Linked DNA regions of Homo sapiens: all the other regions are linked to region 1. The links are contacts of gene promoters, found by promoter capture Hi-C in human tissues and cell types (Jung and others, 2019). All regions are on one chromosome and are shown on one strand. The core of a region is centred on a gene start or on the middle of the fragment in contact, and the rest is flanking DNA. Distances in the headings are between cores, read along the strand shown. Region 1 holds the start of IPO5 (importin 5). Region 2 overlaps DOCK9 (dedicator of cytokinesis 9). Region 3 overlaps SLC15A1 (solute carrier family 15 member 1).

Region 1 (3,757 bases), core at 735-3,234:
GGGGATCCTCCCAGCTCCGGCGTCTGAGGACCATCAAGTCGGTTATGTCACTGGGTTGTGGTAGAGTGGTGGATACACAGGCCACTTAGGCTTGCTTGCCCTGAGGTGAAATTGTTCTGGAACTCTGGGATTTCAACTCTTATATTTCTGCCTGTGTTTTGGAAGTGTTTTCCCCGCTCATTTTCTCCATCAGACAGTGTCATTTATTGTAGCTGCCAACATAAAATGACAACTGTCTCCACTTGTCAGCTGCTCTCATCATCTGGTTTGCTGTGTGCTTTGGAAGGCAGATGACCAAGCATGTATGAACTAGGCACAAGAGTATATGAACTCAGCACAGAGAAGACAGCTGAGGATATTTCCTGTAGAGTAGCATGCATGAACTTTATAAGGTATTTGGCCACTTAGGTATTTTTCTTTTTTTTTTTTCGTGATAGGGTCCCACTCTGTCACCCAGGCTGGAGTGCAGTGGCACAGTCATGGCTCACTGCAGTCTTGACCTCCCCAGCTCAAGGAATCCTCTCACCTCAGCCTCCTGAGTCCCTGGAATTACAGATGCATTCTGCCATAACTGGCTACTTTTTTCTATATTTTGTAGAGACAGGGTCTCACTATGTTGCCTAGGCTGACCTTAAACTCCTAGGCCCAAGTGATCCTCCCACCTCAGCCTCCCAAAGTGCTGGGATTATAGGTGTGAGCCACTGTGCCCGGCCGGTATTTTTCATTTGGAGGTTTATAATTGCATTCCAGAGTTTTAACTCTACTGGAAAGCTAACACAATGTTCCAACACAAATCTGTCTCGCATACTAGTTAGTGTCTTTGAGGTTCCATCACAGACAAATGACGGAAGAAAGCAAAACTGTTTAGGAAGGTCTAAATTAAACATTCTATAATAAAGGCATTAGCATTTGACAAGTCCCTGGTATCTAATACTTTATAAGATGACAATGAGCCTTTTTTACCCCTAGTTAGGGGATTAAGTTCTAGGAGAAGAAGTTAACCAGGTGGTTCCTTAAGTAAGTAATCTTTTGACTACTTAGGGATTGATTTTGTTTTCCCATAATGAAAATGAATTCTGTTTTCCTTCATTTACTTGACTTTAGTGATCTCTGAAAACTAAGATAAAATATACTCGGCCTCTGAGGGAATACAACCATAATGTACAGAAGACAAAATAGATACTCTAAAGATTTTAAATGGAACATCTTGGGATTTGAGAAATTAAAGGCAGTGAAAATCATACTGCTTCTAAGCACTTTTTATTCTCCCTATAGGAAAGCAGGGTAGATAATCCTGATGGGTTGGATTTCAATTAATTGGTGAATAGAAGGTAAAATGATCAAGAAACAGATATCATAATTATAGGAGAAAATAGCAGGAGCTTTTTGTTTTAAAGGAAATAAAGAATAGAATTCACAGTGAAGAGAGACAGAACAAAATCTGATAATTCTAGACTCACTTGAGTGCCGCAAGTATCCTGATCAGGGAAAACAGTTGTGCCTACACATGGGTCCTGGAAAGGCTTCTCCCCGGAACCACCTAAGTGAAATAAAAACTGATTTCTGACTGTTTCAGGATGGCAACACAGACCTTTAGGATAATAACCCACATTCTTTTGGGCAACTCTAATCAAGTGATGCCTCCTTAAGGATACAGAGTTAGTCCCCAGCTCACGTAAGGCACAATACCAAAGAACAATGAGCCATCATGAAATCGTCATTGTTTCATACTTGGTTTTTGTGTAGAATGTTCTCCAAATCATTGTCTCTGACGTTTCCTTCCTCTTGGGTATGACTGTGGTGACGTCAGGAGACGAGCTAAAGGGACCTCCTGGATCTCACAGGGAAACTCTTTCCCTCCAGTATCACGCTAAATTGTTCCTCAGTGCAGATGAAATTCTTAAATGGTTTCATCTGAATGTGAGGTTTTGGGATGACTTACTGTGGTCAGAGCTGTTCCCGGCTGCTCCAGTTGTGGGAGGTCATCAATCCCACAGTTCTGACCTCCTGGCTCAGAGACGTCACCGTGGAGACACCTGGCTGCTATTGTGACACGCAGGAGGTCAGCTGGCTCCTGCTAGTGGGCATTTACACTGCCCACCCTGCCAGCTTCACAGGCCCACACTGCACAGGCATTTAGACGTTACAGGGTAGCCCAAGCTCCCAAAGCTGTGGAAAGGAAAGGGAGCTATCTATTGGCCTTTGAGAACTCAAAACCCATGTTGCTGGGGGCCACTCAGATTGGGTACAAATGTGTCATCAAATTCAGTTTTGAAACTGTCTGAGTAGCTTCTTTACCCACAGATTTTGATTCTATTCACTACTCAATACTGAAAAGAGAAATTGATCTCTCAAATAGACAAAGATAAATTTGTATGGAAACAACAGGAAATTCCATATTACATACGTTTATGTCAACTGGGTTTGTGATTAAATTACTTTTTCTTTTATTTTAGTTGACATGTAATAATTATAAATATTGGCTGGGCGGGGTGGCTCATGCCTGTAATTCCAGCACTTTGGGAGGCCGAGGTGGGAGGATCATTTGAGCTCAGGAGTTCAAGACCAGTCTTGGCAACATGGCAAAACCCCATCTCTATGAAAAATGCAAATATTAGATGCGTGTGGCAGTGCACACCTGTAGTCCCAGCTGCTCAGGAAGCTGAAGTGGGAGGATCATCTGAGCCGGGGGAGGTTGAAGCTGCAGTGAGCTGTGATTGCACCACTGCACTCCAGCCTGGGCAACAGAGTGAGACCTTGTCTCAAAAAATAAACAATAAAAAATTGCAGATATTTATGGGATGTAATTAAATTTTTATATGACAGATTAACATCAATTTTGCCCTGTATTCTCATGGATCTCAATGCCCTAGCTTTGTACATTTAGCTTTTCTTTTTTTTTTGAGACAGATTCTCACTCTGTTGCCCAGGCTGGAGTGCAGTGGCGTGATCTCGGCTCACTGCAACCTCCACCTCCCGGGTTCAAGAAATTCTCCTGCCTCAGCCTCCCAAGTAGCTGGGATTACAGGTGCCCACCACCATGCCCGAATAATTTTTGTATTTTAGTACAGATGGGGTTTCACCACGTTGGCCAGGCTGGTCTTGAACTCCTGACCTCAAGTGATCCATCTGCCTCGGCCTCTCAAAGTGCTGGGATTACAGGCATGATCCCCTGCGCTGGCCTAGCATTTTGTTGTTTTTATTAATTCAGATCATTAATTAAAGCCAAACTCCATTTTTGTAATTATTTATTTCTTTTTTTTTTGATACAGAGTCTCTCTCTGTTGCCCAGGCTGGTGTGATCTCAGCTCACTGCAACCTCTGCCTCTCTGGTTCAAGCGATTCTTCTGCCTCAGCCTCCCAAGTAGCTGGGATTACAGGCACGCGCCACCATGCTCGGCTAATTTTTATATTTTTAGTAGAGACGGGGTTTCACCATGTTAGCCAGGATGGTCTCGATCTCCTGACTTCGTAATCTGCCCACCTTGGCCTCCCAAAGTGCTGGGATTACAGGCATGAGCCAACGCACCCGGCCTATTTTTGATTTTTAAATTGTTTCATAGGACATGGGCAGACTCCTTTGTATAGGTCACATTTTTTTCTTGGTAACGTGTGATGTCTAAGCACTTTCTAGTGTCACCCCGCATATCCTGAAAGTTCTTCAGCACTATTCCTTGCTTCTTCGTCCTCATCCTATGTCACTGGTTCTTTTTTTGTTTTTGAGACAGGGGTCTCATTATGTTACCCAGGCTGGTCT
Region 2 (3,757 bases), core at 888-3,387, 870 kb before region 1:
AAGTGAGAGCCATTCAGGAAGATTGGAAGGTGGGGATTTGTGTGTTTGTGAAGTGTATTCGTTGTTTTATCCCCTGGCGTGATGTTTGCTTGAATTGGTGGGCACAGCAGAAATTGCCAGGACTAGACAGAAAAGTAGATGGCATGTTGTCATGTAACCTCCTCTGATAGCTTCACTCTGCAAAAACTAGCTAATGAGTTTTGCATCTGGCCAAATCTAGAGCTAAGAAGATACTATTTTTCCCTTAAGATAGTTCCCACTAGAATGTTTAGGCAATCAAAAAGTTGTAACGGGAGATTATCAGACAGCATTTCTGCAACGCAGCCCAGCTGGCTTTATTGTCTAAGAAGGCAGCCTTTCTGATGGAAACCTTATCTCCCAGAGGAAGGAGAGGGGGCGAGGAGTGACGCTTCATTTGTGCACTCTCCGTTTGTGCCCAGATGAGCAGGCCATGAATTCTTTCACAGTTTCCCTTTGGTTAAACAGCAGGTGCTCATTTCCACTTCAAAATCAGCACAGCCCCAAATGGTGACATTTATTTTTAGAATACTGAGGTTCTTAGAAAAGCTGGTAGTCTGCGTGAGTTACATGGGAGAAAACAGCAGCACCAGATCTGGGCTAATGAGGAATAGATGTACGAAGTGAGAAATAGTGTGAAACCAAAGATGCCGAGGCCACAGACTGTATATTTCTGGTGCAGCTGGCTATTTGGAATGAAACAGCAGAGCCCCAAAGAGAAAAATTTTGAAAGGGCTCCATGTTCATTTAATACCGGTACTATTTCCTGTTGAGACCTTTTATCAGGTGATGCATTTCCTCATGTTTAGAAGCAGTCCAGTGGGAGCCGCCCCTTCTCCCCCACAGCCATAGCGCCTGCCTGAGGAGGAGCCGGGGAGGTGAGCCTGAGGATCAGCCCAGCCCCCGGGGACCCCCTGCCCTGGTCACGTGCCCTCCCGTGGTGGGGGATTTGCCCTTTTAACTTTGCATGGACAGACTTCACTCTCCTTCCCTCCTACTCTGTGGCTCTCTGGTTGGCTGGTCTATTCCTGTGGGCACAAGAGGAAAGCACCTTGGCCACCATTTTTGTTATTCCATTGGCTCCGAGTTATGTGGTGAAATGTACTATATAGCCTAGAGCATGGGTGGTTGGTTTTTTTAATTTTACAGTTTGTATGTTAATGTATCCTCAAGTTCCTAGATTAATGCTTTTCATGGGAGACTCTTGTTTCCATATAACAAAATAAAAACTAAACTGGGATAGTGGCAGATGCTGGATAATCCATGAATAGTGTAGAAACCTGGGATCATGTGCAGCAGAAAAATCTCTGACTTCAGGATCTCCGTTTTCAAGGCTTGATTTCAGAATACCCTGTGTTCCTCTTTCTCCCTAAATGTAGAAGTCTCAATTCAAGTTTTTACTTCTGTTTTATTTTATTGTGAACAGTTATCTCAAAATAGAGTAGTGGAACATCTCATGCCCTTCTTCACTTGATCATTTTGCATAGCTGACGTGGTCCAACTGACTTAAAGCTGTTTTCCAGTGACTCTAAGACGAGGAAAGGTCCCAAATGGGCTGTCATTGCTTAAGAAACACATCCTTATCCCAGACATTGATCCTGCCTCTAAGCTAACACCATTTCCTCTTGGAGAATCAGAGTGCCCAGGCATCCATGCCCTCTGTTGATGCAGCCAGCCACCCACCCCGGGGCCTCTGGGGTGGGAACCAGCTAAGGCAGCCTGTCTGCTCACCATTATGGCTACGAAGCTACACCTGGGTTGTGTGGGGAAGCTCTCATCTGAGAGATGTGTTCTTCCCTGGCCAGAGTGGGTGAGGTGACAGCTTGAAGGAAACAGTTCTTTTTGAATCATACATTTCTCTTATATTGGCTTTGCCTTTGTTTTTCTTAGTATCTCAGCACGAGTCATCCTACCAAGACAAATTTTCACTTATTGTTATTTTACTATTACTTTGATTTAATACCTATTTCTCAGTTTATAGTTTAATATTTAGAGATTGCATACATTTTAATAAAGGTAGATAAAAAGGGATAAGGAAAAGAAAGTGAAAGAGGTTAGGGTTCACTATAGGGAAGAAAAGCACACAGTAGCCCCAGGTACCCCCGTGAATGCTGGCCTGGTGCCTAAGAGATTTCAAAATCCGTTATTTCATTCAACACAGAAACACACAGGGCAGGAAAAACCCTCAGGGTTCACCCACGTTCAGGTTCCTAACTCTGACTGTCCCTCCTTCCTCTCTTCCTAGGCGTGTTTAGACAAGGATGCACCGCCTTCAGGGTCATTACCCCAAACATCGACGAGGAGGCCTCCATGATGGAAGACGTGGGGATGCAGGATGTCCATTTCAACGAGGTGCGTGCTTGAACTCATGTGGGCTTTCAGGTACTGGGGTATCTGGGAGCCTGCTGTTTGCATTGCTAGTGCATCAGACCAGGGCTTTTTCCTCCCTGTAGCTGCTACTTATACACATAGCTCTAACTGAGATGATTCTCCAGACAACTGATGCAGAGCAGCAAAAGCTTCTGCCGTTCTCCCCTTCTAGGAGTGTCTCCTTTCTTTGGAAAGAGATCATGAGGGGCTAGATTGTAATGAAGTGAGGCTCAGTGCTTGAGCACATCCGGTAAAAGTTCCAATATATTGGTCATAAAGTTTCTCATTCTTTATAGCAGTTAATTTCTCTGGCTCATGAGTTTTCTTAGTTTTAATCTGACTTTTAAATTAATGTCTCCAGCACCAGTCATATCCCCAGGGCAAACTCAAAGGCATGAGAGGCCAGACTCGGGTCCTGGTCATAGCAACCCCTGTCTAGGGCCTTGGTCCCTGCCTCCGCTTGTGTGCTGTGGCGCAGGTCCTATGGGCCCTTAGGAAACAGGACCACCCTGTCGCACCCCCTACAGAGACCAGCAAGTTTGACATTAGATCACCGTAGCAATGTCTGCAAATTCCAGTTTCTTGCTAAAACAGGTTAGCCTTGCAGCCACTTATCTGTAACTGGCGAGTTTTGACATAAAACTAGATATTTGAATAAATGCCAGTTTTCTGCTGGCATTCACTCATTCACTCTGTTTCCTTTTCCATGCCTATCTGCCTGAAGGGTTCTTTGTGTGTACCTGCCTCCCTTCAGCCCAGGGCAGAATGAAACAGCTGAGGGAAAGCTTTTTAATCCTGCCCATGTTTTAAGGAAATTGAAGTTGTCCAATTTCTCCCATGGAGTGAAAGAGCAAGCCAAGAAAGGAGTCAGTCTCTTCCGCCTCTGCTGCACCTGCTTCATCCTGATTTCCAGGGCCACAGCGGTGTGGCATACGGTTGATACTGGGGCTTTTAACCATTCTCATGCCAGGGAGGCAGGCCCTTGAACACACATCCTCATGACATGAGCTAGGCCATAAGTCAGTGGTTCTCTAAACATGGTCCTGGAACCTTTCAGTGAGTCTTTGAGGCGGTACTCTTGCTACTGAATGTCTATGAGGCTGGGTTTTCTTTGTACGCAATGACCCAAACAGCCTGTCAAACAGGCTGTGTGCAGAATGGATGCACATTTGGGCTTATCTTGCAAAATCAGACAGTAAAGAGAGTTGTAAAAATGGAAAATACTACTACTCTTCACTCTTTTTTTTTTTGGAAAAAATATCCTTTTTTATTTACAAATGCTATTTTTAAAATATGTAATAGGCTTATTGTTTTCATTAAATTAATAAGTAAATCTTAATTTTGTTTCAGTTTTCATATCTAGTATTGT
Region 3 (3,757 bases), core at 373-2,872, 760 kb before region 1:
AAAAAGATGAAGGTGATAGAATCTGCTGGATTAGCTGAACCCAAGGCTAAAAGCTTTTGTTCTTGTCAACATGTACGTATCTATAACTTGCTTGAAGAAATGGCAACCTGGTTCAGTTGCCACTGAAACACTCCAATGAACATCTACATTTCCATAATTGATTAGGTTGGTGCCAAAGTAATTGCAGCTCTTGCCATTAAAAGTAATGGCAAAAACCGCAATAACTTTTGCACCAAACTAGTATCACCTCCCCCCGCCCCCCATATGTTTCTACTAGAATTCTTTCCCACTGGACAGAACATATATGTCTATTCGAGGCATTCATTGGCACATTAGTTCTTGGCATTGGCTTTTAGGAAAGGTGGCGTTTTCTACATGGGATGCTTGGATGTGAAAGGTGGCCAAGAACGGTGCAAAAAGAAAACAGCCCAGCGGCCACCTCAACTCTTCAGAGCCCCTTCTCCCACTCAAATGAGGTTGTCATCAGCTTTGCTCAGCTGACAATCACGTCTCTCTCTCCAATTTTTGTTTTCAGATCTTAGTAGTACATGGAATAGGACCGTTTTCAATCTCTTTTGCTCACAGTGTAGCAATTTAGCTTTCCCCTTTCATTTAGGTGAGAGCTCAGTATTCTCCTCTTTTTAATGTCTCTTTTCTTCCATGGTTCTTCCCATACTGCCACCGTCCCCTAGCAGGCTCATTGATACCTCCTCCTCTCTAATTCTTGGCAGGAGACAGAGAGCATTTCCAAAAGTCTTGCTTTACACCAGACACTGTATTAAGCACGTTAGGTACATTGTTATCTCATCTGTACAAGTCATTCCTCTATCAACGATTATGCTTTTTCTTCTGGAGGAATTGAGAACAGGCCAAATCCGATGTGTCAACACTGCCTCTAGAAATTCCTACGCTTGAATTAGGTTTCAGTTAATCAGAAGCTTAAAGATTAAATATTAGTGGTAAAAGAAAACATAGACTCAATCTCTTGGACATCTTTACCATCCATGTCTGCATTCAGAAATGTTGACATTGGGCAAGAATATAAGTAAACATCTCTTTTATCAGCTATAAAGAACATCTATATTATAGGCACATACTTGGAGCTAGCACCTGTCAAAAATCTCAGACCCTCTTAATTGAGAAAAATAAGTAGAATTCAAGCTATCGGTGTTTTTAAATTATTGAACTGTGGTATTGGATAATCAGAAATCCTAGTATATGGACTATGTTTTCAGATATACTTGCAACAATGCTTTAAATTTTTAAAAATTTTTTAATAAGATGATAGAGATAGGATCTCATTATGTTGCCCAGGCTGCTCTTGAACTACTGGTCTCAAGTGATCCTCCTGCCTTGGCCTCCCAAAATGCTGGGATTACAGACATGAGCTGCCACACTCAGCCCTAGAATGGTTTTTTTCTAAGTTATTTTCACAATATGACTTGCCAAAAAGGTCCGTGGAAGAATGACCTCATTGAAAAGGTGCTTCTAACTTTTGTAAAACTGTAGCTGCAGATGCAATTAATTTTAACTGCTTCTGTACAGTGACCACAGAAAAAATTTCTGCCACATATGATTAAGATTAATTCTTTTTTCCTGAATATTAAAAAGAGAAAGAAAAAGGTTTCTCTTCCCATTGCATTCAGAAGATTACAGCTCCATTTATTTTTATTTTTATTATTTTGATATGGAGTTTCACTCTGTCACCGAGACTGGAGTGCAGTGACACGATCTCATTTCACTGCAGCCTCCACCTCCTGGGTTCAAGCAATTCTCCTGCCTCAGCCTCCCGAGTAGCTGGGATTACAGGTGCCCATCACCACACCCAGCTAATTTTTGTGTTTTTAGTAGAGACGGGTTTTCACCATGTTGGTCAGGCTGGTCTCAAACTCCTGACCTCAAGTGATCCGCCCACCTCGGCCTCTCAAAGTACTGGGATTGCAGGCTTGAGCCACCGCGCCTGGCCCCATTTATTGTCTTAGTAGAATAGTACTTTAATGTGTTATATGAAAGTACTGATTCCTTTTGTCTCCCTTTAAATAGAGATAGAACTTGTGCTTAAATAGCTGTGTGAGTGTACGTGAGCTACCTTAAGCTATGGGAAGTAGATGATATTAGGCTTACAGGTTGCATATTAGAAGACAAACCTAACGTTACTCAGAGGTTTTTGTGGATTGTGAGAGTTAAAAGCACTTTCTAAACTGTGAGGTTGGAAGGTAAACCCATTCCATAAGTAATCCCATTATCCCAAAACAAAGTTATAATTCAAATAAAGGCGCATCTCTCTAGGCCACAGGGCGCTCGGTCACATGCTTTGCTGACATGTCTTCTTCTGCCCTATCTAGTTGTGTTTGTCCTTGGCAGTGGGATGTACAAGAAGTTCAAGCCACAGGGCAACATCATGGGTAAAGTGGCCAAGTGCATCGGTGTAAGTATCTCAGCTGCTCTTTCTCAAGGCTATTTAACCACCTCAGAACCTTCTACTTTCTTTAAATTAAAATTTAAGCTTTGACTTTCCTTTAAATATATTTTTAGTGTTCTTAACTGTTTCAGTAAATTGTAGCTTCTTCTAAATGCAAAAAGACACAAACAGAACTTAATAAGGGAAGAATAGAAATGGCTCTTGAGCTTATAAAATAAGATCAATGGTCAAAGAAAAGCAAATCAAAGTGACTCTTCATCTGTCGAAATGGCAGAACAGTGCTTGAGGTTTGTCAGGGAGCAGTGAATCAAAAATGGGGAGGCTCAATTTGGCAATGTGTAGCAAGAGTCTCAGGTGTTCAGTTGCTTCAAGTCAGTCATGCTGCTTTCAAGAATTAAGAGTAAGAAAATAGGCTAGGCACTGTGGCTCATGCCCGTAGTCCCAGCACTTTGGGAGGCCTAGGCGGGCGGATCACTTGATCAGGACTTCGAGGCCAGCCTGGCCAACATGGCAAAACCCTGTCTATACTAAAAATACAAAAATTAGCCAGGCATGGTGGCGGGTGCCTGTAATCCCAGCTACTCTGGAGGGTGAGGCAGGAGAATTGCTTGAACCTGGGAGGCAGAGGTTGCAGTGAGCCGAGATTGTGCCATTGCACTCCAGCCTGGGCGACAGAGGGAGACTCTGTCTCAAAACAAAACTAGAGTAAGAAAAAAATATTTAAAAAGTGAACACAGACTCATGTACAAAGATTATCATTGTAATACTTATAATAGCAAAAATGTAAGCCCACAAATTGCTGCAAATAGGAAGACAGTGCTGAACTTACAGTTCATCTCTGGCATAGCATGCAGCCGGGAGCAGTCTTGTTTTTAAGGAATATGTAGTAATAGGAATGTGCAGAATATGGTTTCTTCCATAAGTACCTCCATAGGATATGCATATACACATACATTTATGGGTGGGAAATAAATGTTGAGAGTAGAATCCTTAGATAATGGAATCAAATGATTTTTTTCCTTATACACTCCCCATTTTTTTAGTGAACATACTGTATATGTTGTATAACTGGAGGTAAATGTGTCATTTATTAAAAAAAAATCACATGTGTGAATCTTATGGATGAAAAGGCAGCCTTAAGATAATTTTAGATCACTTACTTTATCTTACCTGGCCTTATTGCGTTAGATTATTGTATTATATTTCATTTCTTTTTTTTTTTTTTTTTTTGAGATGGAGTCTTGCTCTGTCGCCCAGGCTGGAGGGCAGTGGTGCACTCTCAGCTCACTGCAACCTCTGCCTCCCAGTTCAAGCGATTCTCCTGCCTCGGCCTAC

What was found. Contacts are between HindIII fragments. The study calls those that stand out against the background at their distance.
Region 2: a fragment that was not itself captured here is called in contact with the fragment with the promoter of IPO5 in region 1 in 1 of the 25 tissues and cell types used here (lymphoblastoid cells).
Region 3: a fragment that was not itself captured here is called in contact with the fragment with the promoter of IPO5 in region 1 in 3 of the 25 tissues and cell types used here (IMR-90 fibroblasts, lymphoblastoid cells and mesenchymal stem cells).

Annotation. Positions count from the first base shown.
Region 1 is chr13:97,951,902-97,955,658 of GRCh38, reverse strand. It overlaps IPO5 (importin 5), which reads right to left and starts at 1,984. Exons shown (of 29, transcript NM_002271.6): 1 at 1,943-1,984; 2 at 1,461-1,540. The HindIII fragment of the contact is 20,218 bases long and covers 1-3,757 here.
Region 2 is chr13:98,823,011-98,826,767 of GRCh38, reverse strand. DOCK9 (dedicator of cytokinesis 9) reads left to right here. Exons shown (of 53, transcript NM_001366683.2): 45 at 2,264-2,370. Among named protein-coding and RNA genes, the nearest start is that of DOCK9-AS1, 7.2 kb to the left of the region's middle. The HindIII fragment of the contact is 3,286 bases long and covers 495-3,757 here.
Region 3 is chr13:98,714,549-98,718,305 of GRCh38, reverse strand. It overlaps SLC15A1 (solute carrier family 15 member 1), which reads left to right. Exons shown (of 23, transcript NM_005073.4): 9 at 2,346-2,428. Among named protein-coding and RNA genes, the nearest start is that of SLC15A1, 36 kb to the left of the region's middle. The HindIII fragment of the contact is 3,323 bases long and covers 1-3,283 here.